Regions from separate parts of the Homo sapiens genome. Here regions 1, 2, 3, 5 and 6 are each linked to region 4. The links are contacts of gene promoters, found by promoter capture Hi-C in blood cells and fetal thymus (Javierre and others, 2016). All regions are on one chromosome and are shown on one strand. Each heading gives the region's core, a stretch centred on a gene start or on the middle of the fragment in contact. The rest is flanking DNA. Distances are from core to core; before and after follow the strand shown. Region 1 overlaps TXNDC11 (thioredoxin domain containing 11). Region 2 overlaps CLEC16A (C-type lectin domain containing 16A). Region 3 overlaps TXNDC11 (thioredoxin domain containing 11). Region 4 holds the start of PRM2 (protamine 2). Region 5 overlaps CLEC16A (C-type lectin domain containing 16A). Region 6 overlaps TXNDC11 (thioredoxin domain containing 11).

Region 1 (4,493 bases), core at 1,575-4,074, 440 kb after region 4:
CAACTACAGGCTAATTTTTAGTATTTTTTGTAGAGACGGGGTTTCGCCACATTGCGAAAGGTTGGTCTCAAACTCCTGAGCTCAAGAGATCCACCTGCCTCAGTCTCGCAAAGTGCTAGGATTACAGGCGTGAGCCACCGTGCCCCGCCAAGATCTTTTGATGCTGTATAAAATCTCACCATCTGGCCGCGCTCGTTGGCTCACGCCTGTAACTCCAGCACTTTGGGAGGCCGAGGTGGGCGGATCACGAGGTCGGGGATCAAGACGATGCTGGCGAAAACGGTGAAACCCCGTCTCTACTAAAAAATACAAAACATTAGCCGGGCGTGGTGGCGGGCGCCTGTAGTCCCAGCTACTCGGGAAGCTGAGGCAGGAAAATGGCGTGAACCCGGGAGGCGGAGGTTGCAGTGAGCCGAGATCGCGCGGCTGCACTCCAGCCTGGGCGACAAAGCAAGACTCCGTCTCAAAAAAAAAAAAAATTTCCAATCTGACAGAACAATACTCCAGAAAAGCTTTCTTCGCTTGGAGGAGGGCACTTTTTATGCGTACCGACTCAGTTCTACAAGCAAATCTCGGCAGCATCAGACGCCACCTGGTGGAGTACAGGGACACTACGCTGGAATCAAAGTTCTTCCTCCATTTAATACCTTTCCTCTAAAACACTATTTCCCAAAGGGAGTTCCTTAGAAAACTAATGCTACTAATGCTACAAGGTTTCCTCATCAACTGAGTTTAGGAATTCCCAAAGGTGGTAGAAGGGAGTGGAAACAATATTTTGGTTAATAGTTTAGTGTGGCCGGGCGTGGTGGCTCACGCCTGTAATCCCAGCACTTTGGGAGGCCAAAGCGGGAGGATTGCCTGAGCTCAGGAGTTCCAGACCAGCCTGGGCAACACAGTGAAACCCCGTCTCTACTAAAATACACAAAAATCAGCCAGGCCTAGTGGCGTGTGCCTGTAGTCCCAGCTACTCGAGAAGCTGAGGCAGGAGAATTGCTTGAACCCGGGAGGCGGAGGTTGCAGTGAGCAGAGAACGGATGTCTCAAAAACAAAACAAAACAAAACAAAACAAAAAAATAGTTTAGTGTATTTCCAAGATGGTATTTAGGTACCATGTGAATTTCAATTTGATCTCTACAAAAAAAAATTGTTGTAACTTGCTGGTGTGTTGGTGCACACCTGTAGTTCTAGCTACTCAGAAGGCTGAGGCAGAATCTGATTGCTTGAGCCCATGAGTTCAAGGTTACCACTGCGTTCCAGCCTGGGCAACAAAGTGAGACCCTGTCACGGCAAAAAAAAAAAAAAAAAGAATGAACCAGGCAGGGAAATTCCTACACTATGGTCTATTGAGCCTGAAGGGCCAGGCACAAGAAGTGGAGAAGGTAGTGAGAGGGGATCCAAAGTGACATTTAAAATCCCGTAGCTAAAATCTTTCTCACGCGTCCTTTACCAGTCATACATTCACCAAGCACGGTGTGGAGCTGTAGGAGCAACAAAACAAAACCCTGCCATCAAGGTCCTCAGTAAATATTATCTGAAAAATTAGCTCCTATTCTGGTGGCAGAGAGATTCAGTCCATTGGACAGGGAGAAAACCATGCGTTACAAATAGAAGCAGGTAGGAGGTGCACGGGAAAGGGGAAGAGAAAGACTGGGCCTGCTGGTCAGTCAATGACATCATTTCTTGTGTGGATTTTTTCACTAGAATAGGTAAAATACTTATCTGAGGTGCTTTCAACCAGATGGCTTAGTTTCTAATTAAGGTATAAAGACTATTATTTTACTTGCACGCAAAGTATTTCTTTACTCGCTTTATTACTTTACTCACACACAAAGTATTTCATGATTTGACCTTATAAAATAAGGATTTATATACTTACCTCTACCCTCCCCAAATTTAAAGATAAACAAACACAAACACAGAAAGGTTAAATATTTTGTTCCAAGTTTACAGACCTCACCAGGAGCAGACAAAGGGTAAGGACCAGGCATTGCTGCCTCCCAGCCCACTGCTTTTCTCCCTAGACTGCACTGCAAGTCCTTTTGTAGATCAGATGAAAAATGGGGTCAAAATTTGCTGCAAATCTTCTCTTTTAAAAAAGCCACTGAATTATAGCAGAGTATGACAAAATGTTACCAGAACACATTTTTACAGCAAATAATGAAATAATCATCAGATTTTTAAAAATCAAGCAAGCAACTTCAGAATATGACCCCTCTACCAAATTTTCTTTTGGCAATAAAGTAGCCTCTCTGCCAAGATCAAATGTAAAAATGTTACAAGAGGAACAGGCTTTGCAGTCCTGGAGGAGTAAAGTACAAGAGAGCTGATTTCCTCCAGGCTTTTGAAACATATACAAAGATTGCCAGCCCACAATTAATCATCTAGCACTGTGAAATGATTAAACATTAATGAGAGATATGTAAGACCTACTATAAAAAATTAAAAGGAAGTTTTGAATAAATGAATAATCATGCTGTGCACCTAGAAAGGAAAGCTAAATGTTATGAACATGTCAATTATCTTCAAGTCAATTTATATATTTAACATAATTTCAACAAAATTCCAGCCAAAGGCACGGATGGACATAAAAGAATATTCCACAAAACACAAGAACTACAAGAAGTCCAGACTTGACCAAGTAATAACAATTTACAAAGTAAGAACTTAGATTATGTTTACTCAGACAAAAATAGGTATCCAGACCAAAAGAAATCACAGAAATAGACCCAAATCCATGGAAAAATATGTTCTGTAGTTAAAGCAGGCATCATCAAGATTAGAAAGAAAGGAAACATCATTTTATAAATGAGAGAGGGAAAAATCAACTGTGCTCTATATTTTAAGCCAAAGTAAAGCCAGGGAGCATAAAGTGCTAAATAATTTTTAAATTTAAAAAAGAAGAAAATAAACTAATATAGTCATCAGATTTTCAGGAAAAAAAAAAAAAAAGCAAGAAAAACTAACCAGAAGGCCAGGCGCAGTGGCTTATGCCTGTAATCCCAGCACTTTAGGAGGCCGAGGCAGGTGGATCACTTGAGGTCAGGAGTTTGAGACCAGCCTGGCCAACATGGCAAAAAGCTGTCTGTACTAACGGTACAAAAATTAGGCGGGCGTGGTAGTGGGCGCAGTAGTGGGCGCCTGTAGTCCTAGCTACTTAGGAGGCTGAGGCATGAGAATCCCTTGAACCTGGGCGGAGGTTGCAGTGAGCTGAGATCATGCCACTGCACTCCAGCCTGGGCAAAAGAGCGAGACTCCAAATGAAAAAAAAAAAAAAAAAAAAAAGAACCAGAGATTTAACTTTTTTTTAAAGAAAATACGAAAGCACTACATAAATAATAATAACAGAAGTAAAAAAGGCTAACACAGGCTGGGCGCAGTGGCTCACGCCTGTAATCCCAGCACTTTGGGAGGCCGAAGCGGGCGGATCATGAGGTCAGGAGTTCAAGAACAGCCTGGCCAACATGGTGAAACCCCGTCTCTACTAAAAATACAAAAAATAAGCTGGGCGTGGTGGCAGGCGCCTGTAATCCCAGCTACTCGGGAGGCTGAGGCAGGAGAATCACCTGAACCTCGGAGGCAGAGGTTGCAGTGAGCAGAGATTTCGCCACTGCACTCCAGCCTGAACGACAGAGAGAGACTCTGTCTCAAAAAAAAAAAAGAAAGGCTAATACAATAATGGACAGAAATATGCACAAGAGTTCCTGTCCACAACACCTTAACAGGTGGACCAAGGTAAACTGACAGATCAGCACTGAGGCCGAGCCCTGGAGAAAAAAGGAAACAGTTAAAACAACAAGAGAAGGCAGTTACTATTAGAGTGCTGAGGTGGTAAGTGAATTTCCTTTCTTTTAATGTGTAAAAATAGCAAATGTTTGACAAGTTGCGTTAAGTGGGGGGTAAAGGACCACAGAACCCGATCTTATAACCCAAGCCTCGCATGCTGGGGGCCAGGAATAAGCTCTCCTCACAGCACACCCTACAGCCCTGTGATGCTTCAGACATGGTACTCTCGCAAATTATTTATGCACTGATGACCAGCTAGCTTCAAAAAACAAATGTAGAACTTTGAAGTGGCCTGGCTATTTCTAAGACAATTTAAAAAAAAATCATTAAGGCAGGGGAAAGGCATGTGTATTGTATAAATGCTGGTAGCCAGCTGAACCAAGGCATCTGCTTTCTACTACAACAGTCTAAACACTTCTTCAGTTCAGTTCTCTATAACTAAATGTTATATGTGTCAAATGTTTCTCCAGCCTTGATCTGTACATACAATCTAAACATGACATTGACCTAGAATTTAATTTGAAACTGTATCTTTTTTTTTTAAATGTGCATGTGTTTCTCCTACCTCTTACTGCACATCTGCTGTTAATAATAAGGAAAACACCATTTGACTTCAGGGTAGAAGAAAGGGAGAAAAACCCCAGATGCCCAAGGCAAGATTTACTTTAGGGAATCCTTCATAGTGCACATATTACAGAAAATCATCATTT
Region 2 (4,650 bases), core at 1,819-4,318, 290 kb before region 4:
CCTAACAGAGACATCTGTCAGGGGTTCTTAACTAGGGGCAATTTTGCCCCTCAGGGGATACCTGGCAGTGTCTGGGGAGATGCATTCAGTTGTCATGACCGAGGCTGGGGTGCTACTGACATCTAGTGGGTGGAGGTCAGGGATGCTGCTCACCAGCCTGCAGTGTCTGGGACAGCCTCCCTCCATACTCAGTTATAGCCCAAATTGTCAGCAGTGCCAAGATTGAGAAACCCTGGCCTATGCATATGTAAATAAGCAAATACAAACATGCACACGCTTTTCTATGCAAATGGTAGATAAGCCACACCCTGTGCTACACCCTCTTGCCTTTACATTTTAAAACAAAATAGCAGGCATGTCTAGGCCAGCTTTGCAAGACAGTTTTGAATACCCTGATTCTTAAAGCTGGTCCTCTGAACATTGGGCAACAGGTGTGGGAGCAGGGCCAGCTTAGCCCAGAGGCAGCCCTCTGATTTTGCATCCTGGCCCACCTGGGTTTGCCTCTGTCTCGTGTGATTTTCAGCCCCGTAGTTCACATACCTCCTGACGATGCTGTGGAATCCCCGTGTGCTAAAACCCACCACAGGGTCAGAGCTCCCTCCCGTGATGGAATCTCTGTGTAGCCAACCCTCTGCCAAGTCCTTGATTGGAACAAAACTCTCCGGCCCCTTCTTCTTGTATCACTAAAGTATTGGGACAGTGCCTTCTAGTCTTCTCATAACCAAATTTGACACTAAAATGCCCATGGAAAGGAAGGAGTGTGCTGGTTTGGCTGTTCTTTCCCGCATTGCTCCACTTCAGCCGGATTTGGCTTCACCCAGCCATGAGGGACAGTCTCGCATTAATGCACTTCCTTCCGAGGAAGAGCAGCCAGCCAAATAGGCAACAGTCTGAAGGAGAGACTGACCTTACAAGAGTGGAACCGAGTCCTGCTTCCTGTGGCTCATTCTTTGAATTTTGCATCGTAGGAATTGCTGCTTAATACAGGACTTAGGTAGCCCAGCCTGGTCGCTTCTGATCCAGGAAGCAAGAGGTTGAAAATACCGCACACTTTCATGCAAATCCCGTTTCTTTTTTTTCCGCCAGGTCTTCTTAATTATACATCATGCACCGCTGGTGAACTCGTTAGCTGAAGTCATTCTGAATGGTGATCTGTCTGAGATGTACGCTAAGACTGAACAGGATATTCAGAGAAGTTCTGTAAGTCATTAGCTTCGGGACTGACCTTAACAGGAAACCATTGCTCATTTTGCTAATCTGTGTGTTTCTCTAAAATCAGAAACTAACATTCTGAATATATAGCAGTGATGATGCATAAGCTGGTCCGGGATTCAGTGAACCTAATCAGAGTCTTGATTGCATACCCAAGAGAAGCTGGGATCAGGGACCACCTGGATTTGATTGATTGTGTGTTCTTAAACATGGAATTGTACCACTCCGGGCCTTAGGTTGCATATCTGTGAGACACTGTTATCGGGACACAGTGAGAAAATGCCTTATCAGAGGAACTAATGTCTACAGAAGTTGGGCGATGAACATCCATGAATGACTCAGGCCCCAGGTGAGGGCAGTAGAGAGTGGCGAGGGGTGTGGCAAATTGGAGAGTGTATGCCACCTTGGCGAGCAGCTCCTGTTCTACCCCAGGCTGCTGCTGTTCTGCAGGAATATGGATGTAGGATTACTAGGTTTTTTCATGTTTCTAGAGAAGCGGGAAAAACGCATTGTTACGTGTAATCTCTAGTTTTAAATGATCATCAAGCTTTGGACTAAGTAGCATGTTTGTGGTCTGCAGGAAGGAGCTTTGGCGTTCCATTTGGTACACTGCTGAGGGAAAACACCTGATGGCCAGTGTTGTGACTTCTCTTGAAGCTTTTCCATCTTGTCCTCTGTATATCTCTGCTGTCATCTCTCAGATCCTGCTCACATGTCCTGAGCTCCAGCTGCCTTAATCCTGGTCTGACTTGCTTTTCCCCCAGCATGTCCAGCATTTGTGCCTTTGAACCTGCGCCTTTACCGTACCTACAGCCTGGTTCCTGATGCACCTGGTTCCCTCTTTTCAAAGGTCTTACCCACTCTAAGCTCCTTATGGCAGGGATCTCACCTGTCACTGAATCAGCTGCAGTCTGGGCTGCACAAATGCTCATCTCACTTATGCGGAGCCCAGGCTGCAGCTGATTCAGTGACAGGTGAGATCCCTGCCATAAGGAGCTTAGAGTGGGTAAGTGAGATGAGCATAGTGCGTTTTATACAAGGGCTGTTTCATAAAGGTTTCCTCTCTGCAGCCAGGTGCTCAGGCAGTGGCCAGGCTGGTAAAAGGGCCAGCTCGCCCTGGGGTAGTAGATTTGCTGCCCCACCTACATGAATGGGTGGAATGTGACCCTGTGGATGAAAGGCCACCACTGCATGGAGTACAATTACAAGAGGCCCCTGCCCTTCCACTGGTTTTGGTGTATGATGGTCTGGCCAGGTCATTTTGTTATTCAGGGGAGCATTAGCGCCTCTGAAAAGCTTCCCAGAAACTCTGTCCTTGTTAGTGGTGGTGGCATTAGTGAATTGATTGGGGCCTTTTCATGGCCCCTGTCTGGCCTATCCCTTTCTTGATTCATTCAGCAGTGTTGATGGAGCTCTTTCTTTGGGCCAAGTATCATGCTAGTTCTGGGGATACACAATGTCATAAAGAGTCTGTGCCGTATTCGAGCTTTACAGTACAGTAGAGAGGTGGACATGGATCAGATATGCAAATAACTCACTGTCTTAACTCTTATAAGCGCTCTAAAGGGAAGAAGTGTTTGGTGAGAGGCTTTGGCCTAGAGGTGACAGGGGTGATGTGTTAAAGATTTTCCTAGTGGTCCATCTCATGACAACACACGGTCTGGCAAATGTACAGCTGACTCAGAGTTTATGGGGCCCTAGATATTTCTCTGCAACTTTCTTAAACTAGCGTTTGCTAAATGAATGTAAGTCACGGAAGGCTGAGTCAGCAGAATCAGCAGGGCCTCCAGTTAGAGGTGCAGAGTGCCCTGCCAGCCACCTGGTCTCGGGCAGGTTGTTTCACTCCATTTAGAAAACAGGCAGCGCAAGCCCTGCTCTAGAGAGCTGATGGAGATGGGGGCAAAATATAAAGTGCCCGCTGGGCACGGTGGCTCACCCCTGTAATCCCAGCACTTTGGGAGGCCGAGGCGGGCAGATCACCGGGTCAGGAGATCGAGACCATCCTGGCTAACACGGTGAAACCCCGTCTCTACTAAAAATACAAAAAAAATTGGCCGGGCATGGTGGCAGGCGCCTGCAGTCTCAGCTACTCGGGAGGCTGAGGCAGGAGAATGGCGTGAACCCAGGAGGCGGAGCTTGCAGTGAGCTGAGATTGCGCCACTGCACTCCAGCCTGGGCGACAGAGCAAGACTCCATCTCAAAAAAAAAAAAAAAAAAATATATATATATATATAGTGCCCATCAAGTGCCTGCTGGGTTGCAAACTGGCCACCAGACTCATTTGGTTTGGTCTTTGCAGTATTTAAAAGAAAATTTTCTGAATTGCCAACATTAAAATTTAGGAAGAAAAGTCCAGATTTTTGGAATCTTCTCCAACAGTCAGAAGATCTGGTCCCCATCAATGCACGTTTCTACGGGAAGCTTCGCAGAGCCTGCCCCCATCAGATGAGGCGTGTTTACCGTGAAACCTGCCCACTGCTAACTGGGACTACATTGATGTTAATATGTTAATAGCAACTGGAGATGTACTGGGTCCCTCGGGACTTTTTTTTTTTTTTAGTTGCATGATTTCCAAGCCTGAGGATAGCTGCCGTGGCTTCATCTCAGATTGTCTTACTGTAAGATACCCTCTGCAGTGCTGAAGCTAGACTTGTCGTTCTAAGAGATGAAACCAGAGATTGCTGGGCTCTGGGGTTTGCAGCATTGTTTATTTATTTTTATTTATTTATTTATTTTGAGATGGAGTCTCTGTCGCCCAGGCTGGAGTGCAGTGGCGTGATCTCGGCTCACTGCAGCCTCTGCCTCTGGGTTCAAGCGTCAGCCTCCCAAGTAGCTGGGATTACAGGCATGTGCCACCACGCCCAGCTAATTTTTGTATTTTTAGTAGAAATGGGCTTTCACCATGTTGGCCAGGCTGCTCTTGAACTCCTGAGCTCAACTGATCTGCCTGCCTTGGCCTCCCAAAGTGTTGGGATTACAAGTGTGAGACACTGCACCTGGCCTGCAGAATTTTTTTTTTTTTTTTTTTTTTTTTTTTTTTTTTTTGAGACTGAGTCTCGCTCTGTCGCCCAGGCTGGAGTACAGCGGCACGATCTCAGCTCACTGCAAGCTCTGCCTCCCGGGTTCACGCCATTCTCCTGCCTCAGCCTCCCAAGTAGCTGGGACTACAGGCGCCTGCCCCCACACCCGGCTCATTTTTTGTATTTTTAGTAGAGACGGGGTTTCACTATGTTAGCCAGGATGGTCTCAATCTCCTGACCTCGTGATCCACCCGCCTCAGCCTCCCAAAGTGCTGAGATTACAGGCATGAGCCGGCCTGCTGCATTTTTAGAGTTGTGATAAGAACACAACATGAGATCTACCCTTTTAACACATTTTTATTTGTATGGTTAACATTATTGTTGAGTGTAGGCACAGCATCATTCAGCAGATTTCTAG
Region 3 (4,526 bases), core at 496-2,995, 410 kb after region 4:
TCATGAGGAAAAGTTCAGTTTCAAAGAGGCTTTGCTCATGGCTTCAACCTGACAATTAAATTCAGCCAAGTCCTACCAAAGGTTAATGGAAAATGGGCAGACCCTCACACACCATATGGCTAAGCTGCAAATAAGAGTGAAAATGGGCATACAGCCCAAAGCGCTGCAGAAGAGGCCTGCTTACCTTGCCACAGTGAATGTGTCCATGGGCAGGTTCCGAGCTAGCTGGATGAAGATGTGATTGAGGGATGGACAGAAGCCGCACCACGGAGCGTAATAGAGCAGGAGAACGTCCTGTGGGAAAGGGAAGACAGATGTTACTTGCACCGGGAAATGGGCTCTTCTTCATTTCTTTCCTCATTGCTTAGAATCCAGCAAGCACCCGAAAAATGCTACCTATGCAAATATTACAGTGAAAATTTTCATCTTTAGGTCTTTCCAATACTGTGCTTTCTGGAGCACTTTTCTGAAATTTAAAAACCACATGTAATTCATTCACGGTCCATAATTGGGCCATCACGTGGTTACTCTTCTATACATCAAAAACAGCTGCTCACCCCAACAACTGTAGTTTGGAAATTATTTTAAGAGGGACAGATGGCTTAACTTTTGCCTCTCATGACTCCATACCTGTTTTTGAAGGACTACTTCCCAAAAGGTATCAGTTGTCACTTCAGTGATTAAATGCTGAGACGGGAACTGGGCAGAGCCACTTCCAATGAGATGCCTTTTCAAGGGACTATAGAGAACGCTGAAGTTTTGAATAAAAGACTCTAAAAATAAAGAGAAAATGAGATCAACTCTCCTCTAGATACAAAGAGAATAGCTGGCCTACTTTTAAACTCCACATTTTAAAAACTCAAATGACTTCATAGGCTCACATTTTTAACATTTCACCTATCAGCAAAACCCCAAACAAAGCTGCCCGGGTGGCATCAGGTTTAGCTCTGGTAGTATTAACTCAGCAGACAGTAATGTGGATAACAAAACACTATGCAATGTTAGATGCTCTAATATTCATAGACTATTCTTTTTTTAAAAGGACTGGTCCACAAATAGACACCAAGTGAGACTGTATAAATCATCAACAAGCCACCATCTTTTCAAGAAATTTCACCCTATAATACTAAGACCTTTAAGCTTAACCACAAATGTGACAACTGCACAAGCTACAGTAGTGTGGAATGTGTTTAAATGCTCATTAATTTGAGGACAAGGAGCTACAGTTTTTTGTTTCCTTTATTAAGGTTCTTTAAGTTTCTTTTTTTAAAGGTTAAGAAAAAATTATATGTAGTGGAAAAATACATAAAACCCATAATAATCAAAAACCTGATTTGAACCAACAGTTTTACCACAAATTCTGCCATCTTCAGAGTCCTTTGCTTCATCTGAAACAATACTAATTTGAATTTCACTTTTTTTTTTTTTTTTAAAGAGACAGGGTCTCACTCTGTTGCCCAGGCTGGAGTACAGTGCTGCAATCATAGCTCACTGTAGCCTTAAACTCCTGGGCTCAAGCGATCCTCCTACCTCAGCCTCCAGAGTAGCTGGGACTACAGGCGTCCACCATTGCACTCAGCTAAAGTTTCAGTTCTTTTTCTTTCTTCTAACTCCCTCCATTTTGAGGTGCAATGGGCAATGCAGCGTGCAGAATGGAAGAGGAAGTGAAGAATGTCATGTGAATACTAAAGAGAATTCATGATCAGCATCTGAGAAACACTTAGTTGGCTATGTTTTTGAAACATGAAACCAAGAATTATTTCCTAATCTGAATAAAGCCTAAATTCTGAAACTAGCCTAGAGACAGCTGATTTATGAGTTAAGTCTCTAAACCAACAATGACACACAGTAGGTGTTTTTTACAAGCTCCCTAAGAATTCTGTCACTAACTGCAGGACAAAGAACAGCTAGGCTAAACATTTCAGAGAAGATACAGAAGATGGAAAGAAATCTAAAGAAGGCTTCTTTCAATTACCCTTAAATTCAAAGTGAACACATTATGAGGTCATTAAACACTTGAGCATTACTGAATGGAATTCAGGAAAATCTAATACAGACTACCTCAAAAATACATGCTTGTAGGAACACTGACCCCATTTCTCTGGAGTCTCTTTCCCATTTAAAAAAAAAATGCTTGTTTCATTTTAAGAAAGCTCAACACATCAAAATGACTTTAGATAACATGAATTGGGAGTAATCTATAATATCGACAGATTTATGCCCTTCAAAAAGTGACTGGTCACAGGGTTCTTTTACACAGTGAGGAACTCTTGGATTTATAATATGTAACTTGATATAGAAAAATCAATATTTACATAAAGCCTTTTCACAAATGTGTCTAATGTAAGAAACAAGCTTCACCTAGATTTGAAAGAGGATGGCTAAAAAGACTCATATGTAGAAGCTCTGAGTCTACTGTTGAGTTCATACTTTAAAACTTGAAATGAAAGGTTTCCTTCCCTACCAAATTCCTCCTTTCTCCATTCGGCATACACTGACCCTCCCTCCCGTTTCCAATGAGGCTGAACTAACGTGGCTTTTGAATTCTCACTTCATTGTGTGTAGTCAAGGGCATCAGCAAATTCCTGGGAACAGGCCAGGGTGGGTCAGCCCAATGTTGCTGCCAAGTCCCAGGGGCAAGCTCTGGGTGCTTTCTCATCATGGAGCCTTACTCCTCAAAAAGTGGGTTTTGCTGGTTTGCGACTGACACTTATTTATTTGCACTTTACACTTGTTACAGTGTAGGTACCCCAGGTCCCAGCAATATTACTCAGTACATTATGAAACAGCAGCAGAACAAATTAGGTCTGGTGGCCTTGATCCTTAGACATTTAAGCCTATGAGACAAAAAGGGAGGCAAGGCGGCTCTACTTCCTTCTTCACTGCTCTCTTTTTTTGGAGACGGAGTCTTGCTCTGTCGCCCAGGCTGGAGTGCAGGGGCGCGATCTCTGCTCACTGCAAGCTCTGCCTCCCAGGTTCACGACATTCTCCTGCCTCAGCCTCCCGAGTAGCTGGGACTACAGGCGCCCGCCAACGCGCCCGGCTAATTTTTTTTTTTTTTGTATTTTTAGTAGAGACGGGGTTTCACCACATTAGCCAGGATAGTCTCGATCTCCTGACCTCGTGATCCACCCGCCTCGGCCTCCCAAAGTGCTGGGATTACAGGCGTGAGCCACTGCGCCCGGCCACTGCTTTCTCTTTAAGCTCCTTTAGAACAAAGCTGCTGTCAAGGCTCACTTTCATCAGCCCCTAGGACATCCCACCAGAATAGCTCTCCACCTCCCTGCCTGTTCTAGTCCCCAAGTCCCCACTGCCTGCAGCTGGTTCTACCTTAGACATGTGACAGAAATCGCCAATTTAGAAAGTGGGACTCTTACCCCCACCATGGGCTAAATGACAAACTTATCCAAAATTCAGAGTGAGGAAGTTTCTGTTCCATTTAATAGACAAAATTAGCTTCTTTGAAAATTATGACTGATGGTGGTCTAAAGACTTAAAATGAGCTACGAAGGTGACATCACCCCACAACTAAATGTAATGAGAGCCATCAATAAAATTTACCCATATGAAGTCAAGCAAAATGTACAATGCTTGGGGAAATAAACTGCCTGCAGTACCTAGGGTGAGCTTCATCAGTGCTTGCTTTGGATCCAAGATGTAATGAGATTCTTCTTTCACGTCAACAATTGCCGCAAATTCTTTCACCTGAGTGGAGCTCGGAGCACCCAGTCTCTCTGCATATAACCAAAACAAATTTGAATCCAAAAGGTAGATGTTGAGAGTCTTGTTGGTTCTGCAGCTCAGGCCTGTGAAGTTTGTGCTAGTCATGTCCACTTCTGGAAAGAGATACCTGTTCTCCTCAATGTGAGGAACGGAGCTTGGGGCATCAACCTCACATTTCTTCTCAAGGGAAGAAAATGCAACAGTAGGGGCTTCAAAGACACCTTGTTCAGAGTCGATGAAGCCTGACACACCCCTGCTTATGGTCCTGCAACATGCAGTGTAGTAGCTGAAGGGGCTATAGGAAGTTAAAAAATTGCTGCATTCTATGCTGTCTGATGCCACATGATAAAAGGTCTGCTCCTTGAGGTAGAAAGAATCCAGAGCTGCTGCCATTTCAAAAAAGCTGCACTGTGGCACGCTGACCGAGCTCGGCTTCATGCCCCCGGAGGTCTGGTTGACACAGAGTTCACAGACGTTGTGGGTCCTGGAGAAGGAGTGCCACTGGGGCAGCACCACAGTGTTGCAGCAGGGGGACGCTGTGATCGTTGGCGGGTCTGGCAGCTGTGCCGGCACTTCCAGGGCCAGGGACTCCAGCACTGGAGCATCCACCCGCCGCAGGTGCTGAAGGAGACGCTCCACCACCTGGTCCCCATGACAGTTGTTGTACTCCAAGGCCACTTCGGTGATCTGAAATACAGGGCAGAGTTGGTGAAGGGCTTGGGGATGACTGAGGGACTAGCACCCCGTTAGCCACGTTTCACTTTCTGTAATTTCAGTTATCCATGGTCAACTCCGGTTCAAAA
Region 4 (4,616 bases), core at 897-3,396:
GGGGAGGGGGTTTAGGACTTTGTCTTTTATACATTGAAATGAGTCGTTTGTACACTGCAATGGTATTTTTTAAATATAAATTTTTTGAGGCCAGGCGTGGTGGCTCACACCTGTAATCCCAGCACTTTGGGAGGCGAGGCAGGCAGATCATCTGAGGTCAGAAGTTCGAGACCAGCCTGGCCAACATCGTGAAACCATGTCTTTACTAAAAATACCAAAAAAAAAAAAAAAAAAAAATTTGTTTAGCTCCTTCAGCTACTCAGGAGGTTAGGGAGGAGAATCAGTTGAACATAGGAGGTGCAGGTTGCAGTGAGCCAAGATCGCACCACTGCACACCGCCCCAGTGACAAGAGCGAAACTCCGTCTGTTTTTTTTTTTGTTGTTGTTGTTTTGTTTTCAGAAACTCGTTGCTTCCTAAAGATTGGTCATTTCTGAGCACCAGAAATCCATTTGCCAACATATGGATTGGATCTTGCCAGTCTTATCCCCCCAGTCCTCAGTGGCTATGGTTGGCTAAGGTTGGCACTCTCCGAAGTGCCCCCTTCCTGATCCTGGAATCTATGATGTAAGGATTGTGAGATGGGGAGGTTATCTTGGGTTGTCCAGAAAGTCCCTCAGTGCAATCACAAGGGTCCTTGATTTCAGACAGGAGGGAGGAGTGATGCAGCCACAGGCCGAGGAGAGCAGGCAACAAGGATCGGATTCTGCCTGGGTCTCCAGAGGCTTCAGCCAGCACAGGCCTCACACAGCGCAGCCCATTACTCTGCATTCATCTACTCCTTGCCTTTTGCCGTCTCTGTGCTGACCAAGTTGTTGCTGGAGCATGCCAGACCTGTTTCCCACCTCGAAGCTGTGGCCTGCACTGAGCAGTGCCCCCACCTCTGCCCCCACCGTTTACACTTCCAACCACCCAACACTCAAGATGGGTTGTGTTTTTAAACTGTGGCACACAGTAGGCATTTAAATATGGCCACAAGGTGCCTTGGCATCTTTGTGACTTAATTAGGACTCGATCTGTTCTAACCATTTTCTCCTTTCATGAGGTAGGATCAGGTTCTTCACTGGAGGGGGATCCAGACAGACTAATGTGGCCTTTGACACCATGGAAGGATGCACAATAGACAGGACAGCATCATAGGGTGGCCTCCCAGGCACAGTAACCCTCTCCTAGGTGTCCTGAGAGCATCAGAACTCCCGCCCTACCTGCCTCTGAGGAAGGGCTGCAGAGAAGCCTCTACCCGCCCTGGGCGTGAGGGAAGCCAGGTTTGTGTGATTCGTGCAAAGAAAACCCGACAGGCCAGCGAGTGTCTTGTCAAGCTTTATTGGGCAGGTGACTTTTGCTCGTTTCACTCAGATCTTGTGGGCTTCTCGGCGGCAACTCAGGGCTTGAGCATTTGATGTAGGGGAGTTGCTATGGCCTCACTCGGTGTTTCTTGGGCAGGTGACTTTCTCTTAACTTCCAGCTGGGGGCTTGAGCATTTGATGTAGGGGAATTGCTATGGCCTCACTTGGTGTTTCGGGCGACTTTTTCTTAATTTCCAGCTGGGGGTGAGGGGCCCAGGAAGCTTAGTGCCTTCTGCATGTTCTCTTCCTGGTTCTGCAGCCTTTTGGGAAAGAAAGTTCTGGTTGAGGGGGTCACCTAGGGACTCTGGGTGGGGACGGGGGTTAGGGGGCTGGAGCTTTTGTCAGGTGGGGTGGGTCCCCGCCTCCCTCCTGTGCCTGGGGTGGTCAGGGACATGCAGGGCAAGGCGGGGGCGCAGGCAGACCTCTGCGATGCCTCCTCCGGTGCCTGCAGGAGCGTCTTTTGCGCCTTCTGCAGGAGCGATGCTGCCGCCTGTGGATCCGGTGCAGCCTCCTTCGAGAGCAGTGTCTGCGCCTATAGTGAGACTGGCCATGGGTCCTCTCGTAGACCTCGACGTGCTCCGGGCTCAGCCCTTGCTCCTCTTGGCCGTGGTGTCCTTGCTCTTGCCCATGCAACTGCTGCCTGTACACCTCGTGCGAGCGTTCGCTCAGGCTCCTCACGCGGTATCGGACCATGGTGTTGGGAGATCTGGTGGCTCCTGGGCTGAGGCTGCAGTGGGCCCTGGAGTAGGGGAGGAGGGCGGAGGCCTGCCCACCTGCCCTTGGTGTTACTGTTGGTCTGGTCTGCAAGGCTCCCCGGGAGCTTGTATATAAAGGGGGCGCCCACTATGACTCTGCGGCCCCGCCCAGTCCCCACCCTGCCCAGCCTCCTCTGTGAGGGCAGCACAGGGCCAGGGGTCACAACTAGCAGGGCCCTGGCACCCAAGCTGCAGGGCTGGAAGGGCGAGAGACCCCCTTGCCTTGCCTGTAAAGCATGTCCTCTGTCTCTTGCAGTAGGTGAACCATACAGATGGCAGGTGTTTTATTGCCTAATCCAAGCCCTCATCTCCCCAAGCCGGTGGGTGCGCACATTGTCATTTGGAAGCTTCCTTGCCAACTCACTGCTGTGCCACAGCCACCATGTGGAAGGGACTTCCGTGCTTGGATCTCTGTGCACACAGCTTACTGTTAAGATGGCAACAGCAGCAAACAGTTCCCTAATAGCTCCTATGTGCCAAGCATTGATTCATTTATTTCCCATACATTCACTCATTCTCTCTCTCTCTCTCTCTCTCTCTCTCTCTCCTCTTTTTGTTTTGAGGCACTGTCTGTCGCCCAGGCTGGAGTGCAGTTGTGCAATCATGGATCATAGCAGCCTCTACCCCTCCAGCTCAGATGATCCTGCCACCTCAGCCTCCCGAGTAGCTGGGACTATAGGCGTGTGCTGCCACTCCCAGCTAATTTTTTGTATTTTTTGTGGAGATAGATAGGGTTTCACCATGTTGCCCTGGCTGGTCTCACACTCCTGGCCTCAGTGAGCCTCCCATGTCGGCCTCCCAGAGTGCTGGGATTACAGGTGTGAGCCACCACCCTTGCATTCCTCACTCTTACAATCCTCATTTTCTGTGGGGCAAACAGGCATGAAGAAGTTGAGTTGCTCAAGGCCACTCTGCTGAGAAGGCCAGGCCGGGCCAGCATTCAGACGGAGACAGCCTGGTTTTAGTCATACCCTTGGCTCTCCACCTCCTCCCTAGCCCAGGGAATGCTCCCCTCTCCGCCTCCAAAATATTCATCTTCTCCCCTCCCGCTCGGCCTTGCCGGGGCTTCTCATTGAACTTTGATGATCCCATTAAAGTCCGGGATCAGAATCACAGAAACTGCAAAACCAGTTTCCCTTTCATGGAGGGCAGGGAGAATGTGGGAATGTGGCAGATACACAAATTTAAGGACTTGAAGATGCAGAGATCATCCCAGATGATCTGGGTTGGCCCAGTGCAGTCACGAGGGTCCTTAGAAGAGAGAATAGGGAGGCAGGAGGGTCACAGGAAGAGAAACTGGGAGACACCACACTGCTGGCTTTGAAGATGGAGGGAGAGGCTATAAGCCAAGGGATGCAGGCGGCCTCTAGAAGCTGGGATGGACAAGGAAATGGGTTATCCTCCCCTCGTGCATCCAGGAGGAACACAGCCCTGCTGACCCCTTGATTTTAGCCCCATGAGACTTCTTTCAGAATTCTGACCTGCAGACCTGTAAGATAATGCATTTATGTTGTTTAAAGCTACAAAATTTGTGATGATCTGTCACAGTGGCAATAAGAAACAAATTCAGGAGGCTTAATCTTCAGATCCTTACAGGAGGTGATGGGTGATATTGCCATGCCCTTGGTGTTTCTATGCTGCCTCTCTTTAGGGATAAGAAGGTCCTTTATGATGGCCCTCAAGCTCTTCGAGGGCGCGTGTTAAAAATATGAATGCTGAGGCCTTACCCTACGTCCCGCTAAGTCAAATCTCCATGGCCAAAGCTTGCAGATGAAAATAAGAAGGGGCGGGGCAGGGCTCGGTGGCTCACACCTGTAATCGTAGCACTTTGGGAGGCTGAGGCGGGTGGATCACCTGAGGTCAGAAGTTCAAGACCAGCCTAGTCAACATGGTGAAACCCTGTCTCTACTAAATATACAAAAATTAGCCGGGAGTGGTGGCGGGCGCCTGTAATCCCAGCTACTCAGGAGGCTGAGGCAGGAGAATTGCTTGAACCCAGGAGGCAGAGGTTGCAGTGAGCTGAGATGGCACCATTGCGCTCCAGCCTCGGCAACAAGGGCGAAACTTCGTCTAAAAAAATAAAATAAAATAAAATAAACATAGGAAGGGGCTGGGTGTGGTGGCTCACACCTGTAATCCCAGCACTTTGAGAGGCCGAGGTGGGAAGATCACTTGAGCCCAGGAGTTTGAGACCACCCTGGGCAACATAGTGAGGGCTCTGTCTACAAAAAATAAAAAAAATAGCCTGGGTCCATGGTGGCATGTGCCTGTAGTTCCTGCTACTCAGGAGGCTGAGATGGGAGGATTGCTTGAGCACAGATCAAGGCTGCAGTGAGCCACGTTCACACCACTGCACTCCAGCCTGGGTGACAGAGCAAGACCCTTATCTCAAAAAAAAAAAAAAAAAAGGCACACCCAGGGGTCTGCCTGTCCAGCCAAGCTGCTATCATGATCCGAGTGTGTTATGGGGAGTCATTGCTAAAGTGATCAGGGTCATGGTAGTGCCAGGGCTAGCAC
Region 5 (4,535 bases), core at 331-2,830, 330 kb before region 4:
AAGAGGAAGTGAGGACCCAAGCTCAGAGCCATGCTTGGCAGTCTCCAGAGGCCAGGTCCCCTGGGGCCCTGTAAATCACTTTAAGGAATTCAGACTATGAGTGAGAACAGTAGGGAGCCACTGAAGGTTTTTTAACTACAGAAAGGCTGTGGTCTGGCTGAAGCTGGCAGAATGGATTGGATGAGGGGCAGACTGGAGGTGGGCCTCCACATGTGTTGGTGGGGCGGGGAGCAGGGGCTCTGCTGCCGTCCCCTGGTGAGTTACGGTAGCAGCTGCTGTCATCCAGGTGTATCTCCTGTTGGTGGTCCACTCACACACATACCTCGCCTGCCCACTTGAGGTCCCCTGCTCTTTTCCTCCTGCCCATCCAAATCCCTAGCTCTATCCCGAAAATGCCAGTTCTTCCCTAAAAATTGCCCTGGTGACTTCAGCCAACAAGAGTTTTGCTGTCTTCTCTAACTTCTTCTGTGCCTGTTCACACTGTCCCACACAGTTAACACATTATTATATACTTCTCATCGCCAAAGAGTGGGTCGGCTGTTAGCTCCTGTGCGTTCTTAAAGTTTCATCTCGGCCTTGAGTTAGACCCTCAGGAAGCTGGCCGGGGTTCCTGTCCTTTGGCTATCAGACATTGTCTTCCTTTGTTACATATCTTTTTTGTTGTTTTCTCCCAATTTGAACATAAGAATCATGAAAGCCTGTATGGCTTGTTCAGCTGGGTACTGGTATGCCAGCACAGGACGTGGCAGATAGTAAGCAATCAACAAATATTTGTCACAGGATGAACGAGAGGCAGACCTCTGTTTTCAGAAAAGGCCAGTCTTTTCCCAACAACTGCTTGTTCTCCCCAGTTTAGTCACAGCACCTGTGCCACAGCCATGACTTTCTCTAGGGCTAAAGCCCTAAAGAAAGCTAGGGTATAGCCCTGCCTATACCCTACACATCCCCGGCCCAGCCTCACTTGCCGGCCCTGTTTGACATCTTTGGGGGATGATTCACCAGGGGAAGCACAGCCTGTGAACACCTTCTCTAATCCTCTAGCCTGATTCCACCCTCCGTGAAGCTTCTCCTTGTCCTGCTGGCCAGAAGGCTGAACACTGACCAGATGGTGGTTTTCAGGGCACAGAGTGGGACACACTGGGGAACGTCTGCAGGGCCTCTGCCCGAGTGCTGAACAGGCCAGACAGATACAGGCTCTGTGTCTCCCATCCCTCTACCACACCTGAGACATTGTTATTTGGAGCTGTGTGGACATTGGGGGGTAAATTTCTAACCCCCAGACCTCCTATCATTCTGCTTATCCTTTCTCATGCCCCACCTTGCAAATGTACATTTCAAAATCTTGAAGGAGGAGCATCCTAATAAGCTCATTATGGTGCAAGGCATAGCACGTGCAGAAAATGCTGTCACTGAAATGAACTTGGACCTAGTATTCCTGTCTCTGAAATGGACTGAATTGCTAATTTTTGAAGGATATGGGGCATTATTAACTGTAGTGGTTTAACCTGTGAAATTAGTGACTCTTGAGAAAGCAGAGGCTATTGAGGCCAGATTTGTTTACGTCTGTCATCCTTGGTGATGCACCTCGAGTGTGTTGGTTACAGTTTCTCTTCTCCAGGCATTTCAAACTCTGAAGCTCATCTGTCGGTGGAGAGTTAGCTAACAGGCAAAGCTCGGATATTGAGACTGCATCTGCAGAGCTCCTGCTGGGGATATGAGAATACTGGCTCTTTTCCAGACAAATGGGAGTTAGAGCCTTTTATAAGGACTTTCCATAAGATCTGATAGTATTTTCATGCCTTTTTGGTTTATCTATTTGGTGTTTTTTTAATTTATTTTTTGTGTGTTAGGCATTCATAACCTCATGTAAATTCTTGGCCAATAAAATTGTTGCTTACTTCATTGTTTGCATTTCTGTAGTCCTAGAAGGGTTGTAATCATGGGGTCTGGAGTTCAGTCTGCCTGGTTGTAACCTAGGCACCTCCTGTGCTGCACCAGGGCCCTGGGCAGATGCCTCAGCTCCCAGAGCATCATCCCCAAAGGGTCGATTGTTTCTGGGATTAAACGAAGCACTCAGACAGAGACTGGCAGTAATAGGAAGCTTCATCTGTTTTACTGAGGTACATACATAGTTTGAGAAAACACGTTGTCATTCTAACAGTGGTTATCATTGTAAGAGAAACATTTTAATTTGCTGCCGTTAAGTAGCAAGGTAATTATTCTGTCCTTTGAAACTTTTCTGAGATAAAGACACAGCTTTCCATACAAAGATGGTCATAGCAACATTGTTATCACTCACACAATTAGGAATCTTAATGCCCTTCAAAAGAGTTGCTACTGTGCTTGTCCTTTCAGTGTCATACTGTGTAGCCATTACAGATATTTGCAAACAGTTGTCAATAACCAAAAAAAGTGCTTTTGTTTTAGCTGAGGTGGGAAATAAGATTGGCACTGAAATGGATAATGCAACATGACCTCAACTATGTAAATATCCATAGCAAAGAAAAAGACCCGAGGAAATAGATTGCAACTCCAGCAGCAGTCATCTCTAGGCACCACGGTTGCCGTTTCTCTTTCATTGTTGTCAAAGTTTCCTACTTCTCTAAAGTGAATGTTACATTTATAATCAGAAGGTTTTATTAAAATGGGCCGGGTGAGTTGGCTCACACCTGTAATCCCAGCACTTTGGGAAGCCGAGGCAGGCAGATCAGTTGAGGTCTGGAGTTCAAGACCAGCCTGGCCAACATGGCTAAACCCCATCTCTACTAAAAGTACAAAAATTAGCTGGGCATGGTGGCCTGCGCCTATAAACTCAGCTACCTGGGAATCTGAGGTAGGAGAATCGCCTGAACCTAAGAGGCGGAGGCCGCAGTGAGCCAAGATCACGCCACTGCACTCCAGCCTGATGACAGAGCAAGACTCCATCTCAGAAAATGACAACAACAACAAAAAGTTATTAAAATGTTTATATCTCTGAGGTGGTTGAATTACCTAATCTTCCAAAGCCCTGGAATTAGATACACCATTAAAACATTAAATCTTAATCCATTCAGCCTTTCCCCCCATTACATTCAAGCAAATGTATATTGAGCATCTCTTCCTAAAACACTGTGTAAAACGGTGTGCCAGGGCATTGTGGGACAGAAAGACGAGCAAGGTGAAGGTGTAACCCTCATTGAGCTTTGGAGCTTGCAGTCTACTGAGTATTTCTGTATACCAGCAAAAGACATTTAGAAAATGAATATTTGAAACAATATCATTTACAATAGCATAAAAAAATGTCGACTACCTAGCAGCAACTCTAACAATAGATCTGCAAGATTCCTGTCAAGTGAGCATGGAAACAAATGCTGTAAATATCAGAATGTTACACTATTGTAAATATGTCAGTTCTCTCCAAATTTAGCCATAGATGTAGGGCAAGTCTAAGAAAATTTTAGCACGTATTTTTGTGGAAATGAAGAAGGTGATTTTTGAATGTATATGGAGATTAAAAGGGCCAAGAATAGGCAATATTGAAAAACAGAAGGAAAGAAGTTGGAAGACTTAATTACTATATGGCAAGATTTACTGTAAAACTGCAGTAATCAGACAGTATGGTCTTGATACAAGGATAGACAAATAGATCAATGAAACTGGAGTATCCAGAATGAGACCCACATGGGTAGTCACCTGATTAATGACAATGGTGGCGCTGGAGTGCAGTAGAGAAGTGAGGGCCTTTTCTGTAAATGGTGCTGGGTCAAGTAGATTTCCATATAGAAAAACTTAATTTTGGCCAGTACCTCATATCCTACACAGAAATCAGTTCCAGATGTACTCAAAGTCAGAATGCGAAGAGTAAAACAGTAACTTTGTTAGAAGTAAAAAGCATTTCCTTATAACCTTGGGGTAGGTAAGAACCTCTTAAGCTTGATACAAGAAACACCATCCAAGGGAAAGATTAATAAATTGAACTACATTAAAATTAAGAACCTCTACTCATCTAAAGACCCAGTATAAAGGGAACGAAAAGGTAAGCCACCATCAGAGAAAGTATTTGCAATATTTATCTCCAGTAAAGGGTTTGTGGTCAGAGTATATAAAGAAAAGCAAGAAAAAGCCACACAGCCTAATTTTAAAAATGGGCAGGCTAGGCGCGGTGGCTCACGCCTGTAATCCAAACACTTTGGGAGGCTGAGGTACGTGGATCACGAGGTCAGGAGATCGAGACCATCCTGGCTAATACAGTGAAACCCCATGTCTACTAAAAATACAAAACAATTAGCCGAGCGTGCTGGCGGGCGCCTGTAGTCCCAGCTATTCGGAAGGCTGAGGCAGGGAAATGGCGTGAACCCAGGAGGCAGAGCTTGCAGTGAGTGGAGATCGCACCACTGCACTCCAGCCTGGGCGACAGAGCAAGACTCCGTCTCAAAAAAAAAAAAATGGGCAAAAGACTTGCACAGGCACCTCACAAAAGAAGATATTCAAACAGTCCATAAACATATATGAACAGGCACCCGGTTTCACTACTGGAAGAAAGCCCCCACGCAATA
Region 6 (4,475 bases), core at 182-2,681, 460 kb after region 4:
TGTGAATCTAAAGCATGCTTTTTGTGTTCACTGAATTTTTCAGGAATGCAACTTCTATGTAAACTGAGAGCAGAAAGGGCTTTGCATAGTTCAGGATTTTACCAAGACTGTTCACCATTTAGGATAATCAATTACTAAGAGCAATGTCCATGTGGCAGGTAAGTCACCAACATATCACCTTTATCAGTCTACGTTTGTAACTATCCCATTCAGTGATTCTACATAAAGGTATATGGACCTGTTCTGACTGTGCACTTACATACTAAAATATATATCATTTAGTTACAAATTACTTTCTTCCCCCCTCACCTCTATGTTACAATCCGTGCATTAGATTATTTTGAAATTACATGTATAGGAAAACTTTATCATCTATGAATTCCTTTTTAGGAAGAAAAAGGGACATCATAAAATACTTATTTTCTAAAGCACAACTGGGGTCCACTGGGCTGAAAACCACTGCCATAACAGGTGACTTATTTGCCTATATATCTTTCTTACCTAGCCCAAAGGTGGCATTCCTTATCTGCTGAATATAGTTCTGGTCCATATATTAAAAAGGTCGGCCTTGTTACAATGCAGTCATATCATACATACATTTTCTTACCTAAAATACCTAACTAGCAAGTATCAAATGGATATGCAAGAACTAGGATTTTCAGTCCCTCTACCTTTTTCAATGCTGAAACCAAACAGTATGGCACCCCAGGATAAGCATTGGCTTGTGTTATGAGATTCAGAATCTGCTCCCACACTTGCCTTGGAGTACAATCGCCACAATTGGAAATCCTTTCTGTTGCTTTATAGAAAGCTCTGTAACTTAGAAACGACTCCTGGAGTTCACCTTGGCAAAGTCTGCCCGTTGGGCAAGGTGTCTCTGTGGGGACATCCTGCCCTACATATAGGACTGACAGTCATTTGATTCTTAAGCTGAATGTGAGCATTACCTGATCTGAAAGCCGACTTGCTGCTTGCTCAATTTCTGCCCTGGCAGCGATGGACTGTCCACACCAAGGGGCATAGAAGAAGAGCAGTACCACCTCTGAATCCCGTCGAACGTACTCTGCATAATCCAGCTGCCCCTGGAAGAGGTCAAGGACTGGAGACCTCAAGGAGAAAAAGCTGACAGGTGGCTTTGCTGGTATTATCACATCTTTTGCTCGACTAAAAAAGAGCAAACACAGAAAAGATTGCTTAGTTTATCTTCTTCTAAAAATAGCTCTGTGGAAGTAGAATGAAGCTTAAAAGGAAAATCCTCTTTTGAATAAGAAAATGGAGTCCCAAAATCACTGCCCTAGAAAGGCAACATCTGGCTGAGCAAATGCAAGACATGAATAATACGTTGGAAACAATTCTCTGAGATTCTGTCCCCTAGGTGTAGGCTGGAAGGGCAGTGGAGAGCAGAGAAGGATGTCTCTGAATAATCCATATTCCTGCTCCCCACATCCCAAAGACTTCATCCTCCTTTTTCTGCAGCCTGGCTCTCCACAAAAGCCACTTATCTCCAGGGCTTTAGAGCCACCAGCATGCAAGCTCAGAATTACGGTGAGGGAGCATGTAAACTACCATTAACAAGATTTCCACGGGAGATGCTTACAATCAACTCAACTTTGAGAAAACATTAAGCTTATTAGCTGGAGTTGGCTTGTACTTATCCAGGGCATTCAGGTAACAGTAACAATTAAACAATAATATACATTCCTCCAGATATATATCATAATCCTAAGACTAATGAAGATAAGTAACAAAGCAACAGCCTATTTAACTGGAAAATGGGCTTTTTGAACACTTGAGCTTCCCACAAGAAACAGATCAGGAGGAAAAAGAAAAGAACGCTGAACAAACAAGTGGTCAGAAGTAACTTTCCCCATCAAGACCTAAAGATCTAGGCCCAGGCTGCATCCCACCAAGTAGAAGGGCCCTAGTAAACACCCTGAGCTGTCCATGCATCTACACTCACATACCACAAACCATTAGGGCAGCTTTGCTAAGAAACAAATGAGACCCAATTATGCACTATCTAAACGAGATAAATAGAGAACATAAACATGGAAACCTAAAACGCGATGAGATTAACCCCAAAGAAAGTAAAGGAGACCAGGCGTGGTGACTCAGCCTGTAATTCCAGCACTTTGGGAGGCCGAGGCAGGCAAATCTCCTGAGGTCAGGAGTTCAAGACCAGCCTGGCCAACATGGTGAAACCCTGTCTCTACTGAAAATGAAAAAGTAGCTGGGCGTGGTGATGGGCGCCTGTAATCCCAGCTTCTCGGGAAGCTGAGACACAAGAATCGCTTGAACCCGGGAGGCGGAGGTTGCAGTGAGCCGAGATTGCACCATTGCACTCCAGCCTAGGTGACTAGAACAAAACTCCATCTAAAAAAAAAAAAAAGAAAGAAAGTAAGTAAAGGAACAAGAAAAGAACAAAAGCCAGACGGTACAAATGGAAAACAAGGAGCACGAAGGTAGACTTAAACCCAACTACCTCAACAATTACGTTAAATATAAAAGGAGAGGCCGGGCGCGGTGGCTCATGCCTGTAATTCCAGCACTGTGGGAAGCCGAGGCAGGCAGACCACGAGGTCAGGAGATCAAGACCATCCTAGCTAACATGGTGAAACCCCATCTCTACTGAAAAAAATACAAAAAATTAGCCGGGCGTGGTGGCACATACCTGTAGTCTCAGCTACTCGGGAGGCTGAGGCAGGAGAATTGTGTAGGTTGCAGTGAGCCAAGATCATGCCATTGCACTCAGCCTCGGCAACAGAGCGAGACTACGTCTCTCAAAAAAAAAAAAAAAAAAAAAAAGGAAGCAACCTAATTAGGAGGAGCAGACTGCCAGACAGGATAAAGCAAGACCCAATTATGCACTATCTAAACGAGATATATCTTAAATATAAAGACACAGGATAAAGGCATAAGGATGGGAAAAGAAAAACTATGTAAATAGTGAGCATAAGAAATCTGGCATGACTCATGAGGTAAAATGATAAACTGGGGTATATTCTTACCCATTTACTTAAATGTTACTCCACAATAAAAACGAAAAGCAAAACCTATTCATATGTACTATAACTTGGATGAGTCTCAAAATGATTATGCTGAGTGAAAAAAGTGCTAAAGAGTACATGCACTATGACTGCATTTATATGAAATTCCAGAACAGGCAGAAGTATCCAACGGAGCAAGTCACCTATTTATTCACTCAAACTAATATTTTAACCTTCAATCAGAGAGCTTTCAGTCTATGCAGAATGCCTTCATAACCTGAAAAAATCACTTACACAATTATTCAAAAATTCTTTACTGAGCAGCTGTGACTGTGCTTTGGGCACAAGCACTAAGGCTGCGGCAGCTAGCACTGCGTGTTGTCGAGGAGACCACTTTCTAGGGGAGGAAGACAGGAAAAACATCAAATGTGTAAACAATAAAAATATACTAAATGCTCACTATGTGAAAAATTTAACAAGGTGATGTACAGAAGGGCATGGTAGCTCCTCTGATGGAGTGGTGGCTTGGGAGGTGCTATAATTTAAGCTCTGAGACCTGAATGACAAGAAGATAGCCACCTAAGAGGTGGGGAGGGCACTACAGGAAAAAAAAAAAAAAGACACGTTTTCAAGAGATCCAAAATTCTGCTCTTTGGAGAAATTACTTTTCTACCATTCAAACTGCACATGGCCAAGAGTCGTGGCTCACGCCTGTAATCCCAGCACTTTGGGAGACAGAGGCGGGTGGATCACATGAGGTCAGGAGTTTAAGACCAGCCTGACCAACACCGGGAAACCCCATTTCTACTAAAAATACAAAATTAGCTGGGCATGGTGGTGCACACCTGTAATCCCAGCCACTTGGGAGGCTGAGGCAGGAGAATCGCTTGAACACGGGAGGCGGAGTTTGCAGTGAGCCAAGATCACGCCATTGCACTCCAGCCTGGGAAAAAAGAGCAAAACTCCATCTCAAAAGAAAAAAAAAATGCAATGTAAGCATCAAATAATGCAATCTGAGGAAAAATGTAGGTCTGACAGTCAACGAAAGGATAAAGAGCAACTCAGTAATTTTGCTCTGCATATTCAGAAGCATTCCTAAATGAGCCAGATAAAGTACAAGGCCAATCAAAAATCAAATATTGGCCAGGGAGAAGAAACGCTCGCCTCTACTCCATCAGAAACACTGGTGAGTTTCTATTTAACTCATCAATCTGCTTCACGCTTTAGAGAAACTATACATAGAGCAAAGATTTCCTGCAGCTATGAGGGGTATGTCTCGGGTACAAAAAACTCGAGTTGGTTGCAAATAAGAAGGCCTGTTGTTGCTGAGCCAGTAGCATGTGCCTATAGTCCCAGCTACTATACTCAGGAGGCTAAGGCAGGAGAATTACTTGAGCCCAGCAGTTTGAGGCTGCAGCATGCCATAATTGCACCTGTGAATAGCCACTGCACTCCAGCCGGGGCAACATAGAAAAAAGGCCTGTTGAA

The links. Contacts are between HindIII fragments. The CHiCAGO score rates a contact against its expected background, and 5 or more counts as called.
Region 1: a contact is called between a fragment that was not itself captured here and the fragment with the promoter of PRM2 in region 4, in 4 of 17 cell types (activated CD4 T cells, naive CD8 T cells, total CD4 T cells and 1 more). The highest score is 6.7, in activated CD4 T cells.
Region 2: a contact is called between a fragment that was not itself captured here and the fragment with the promoter of PRM2 in region 4, in 16 of 17 cell types (activated CD4 T cells, naive CD8 T cells, naive CD4 T cells and 13 more). The highest score is 20.0, in activated CD4 T cells.
Region 3: a contact is called between a fragment that was not itself captured here and the fragment with the promoter of PRM2 in region 4, in 4 of 17 cell types (activated CD4 T cells, naive CD4 T cells, megakaryocytes and 1 more). The highest score is 7.7, in activated CD4 T cells.
Region 5: a contact is called between a fragment that was not itself captured here and the fragment with the promoter of PRM2 in region 4, in 14 of 17 cell types (activated CD4 T cells, naive CD8 T cells, megakaryocytes and 11 more). The highest score is 14.1, in activated CD4 T cells.
Region 6: a contact is called between a fragment that was not itself captured here and the fragment with the promoter of PRM2 in region 4, in 1 of 17 cell types (activated CD4 T cells). The highest score is 5.3, in activated CD4 T cells.

Annotation. Positions count from the first base shown.
Region 1 is chr16:11,714,175-11,718,667 of GRCh38, forward strand. The region is part of intron 5 of TXNDC11 (thioredoxin domain containing 11); the gene reads right to left. Among named protein-coding and RNA genes, the nearest start is that of TXNDC11, 26 kb to the right of the region's middle. The HindIII fragment of the contact is 4,629 bases long and covers 511-4,493 here.
Region 2 is chr16:10,981,792-10,986,441 of GRCh38, forward strand. It overlaps CLEC16A (C-type lectin domain containing 16A), which reads left to right. Exons shown (of 24, transcript NM_015226.3): 10 at 1,087-1,200. Among named protein-coding and RNA genes, the nearest start is that of CLEC16A, 40 kb to the left of the region's middle. RefSeq lists a silencer at 179-248. The HindIII fragment of the contact is 1,125 bases long and covers 2,507-3,631 here.
Region 3 is chr16:11,687,673-11,692,198 of GRCh38, forward strand. TXNDC11 (thioredoxin domain containing 11) reads right to left here. Exons shown (of 12, transcript NM_015914.7): 8 at 3,618-4,410; 9 at 631-773; 10 at 185-294. Among named protein-coding and RNA genes, the nearest start is that of SNN, 21 kb to the left of the region's middle. The HindIII fragment of the contact is 1,215 bases long and covers 1,139-2,353 here.
Region 4 is chr16:11,274,334-11,278,949 of GRCh38, forward strand. PRM2 (protamine 2) reads right to left here and starts at 2,147. Exons shown (of 2, transcript NM_002762.4): 1 at 1,767-2,147; 2 at 1,306-1,604. The coding sequence starts at 2,037. The coding sequence ends at 1,567. The region is part of intron 1 of LOC105371082 (a long non-coding RNA gene); the gene reads left to right. The HindIII fragment of the contact is 881 bases long and covers 1,564-2,444 here.
Region 5 is chr16:10,949,565-10,954,099 of GRCh38, forward strand. All of the region lies in intron 1 of CLEC16A (C-type lectin domain containing 16A), which reads left to right. Among named protein-coding and RNA genes, the nearest start is that of CLEC16A, 7.3 kb to the left of the region's middle. RefSeq lists enhancers at 1-149, 4,414-4,483. The HindIII fragment of the contact is 1,038 bases long and covers 1,062-2,099 here.
Region 6 is chr16:11,735,070-11,739,544 of GRCh38, forward strand. TXNDC11 (thioredoxin domain containing 11) reads right to left here. Exons shown (of 12, transcript NM_015914.7): 2 at 948-1,164. Among named protein-coding and RNA genes, the nearest start is that of TXNDC11, 5.6 kb to the right of the region's middle. The HindIII fragment of the contact is 386 bases long and covers 1,239-1,624 here.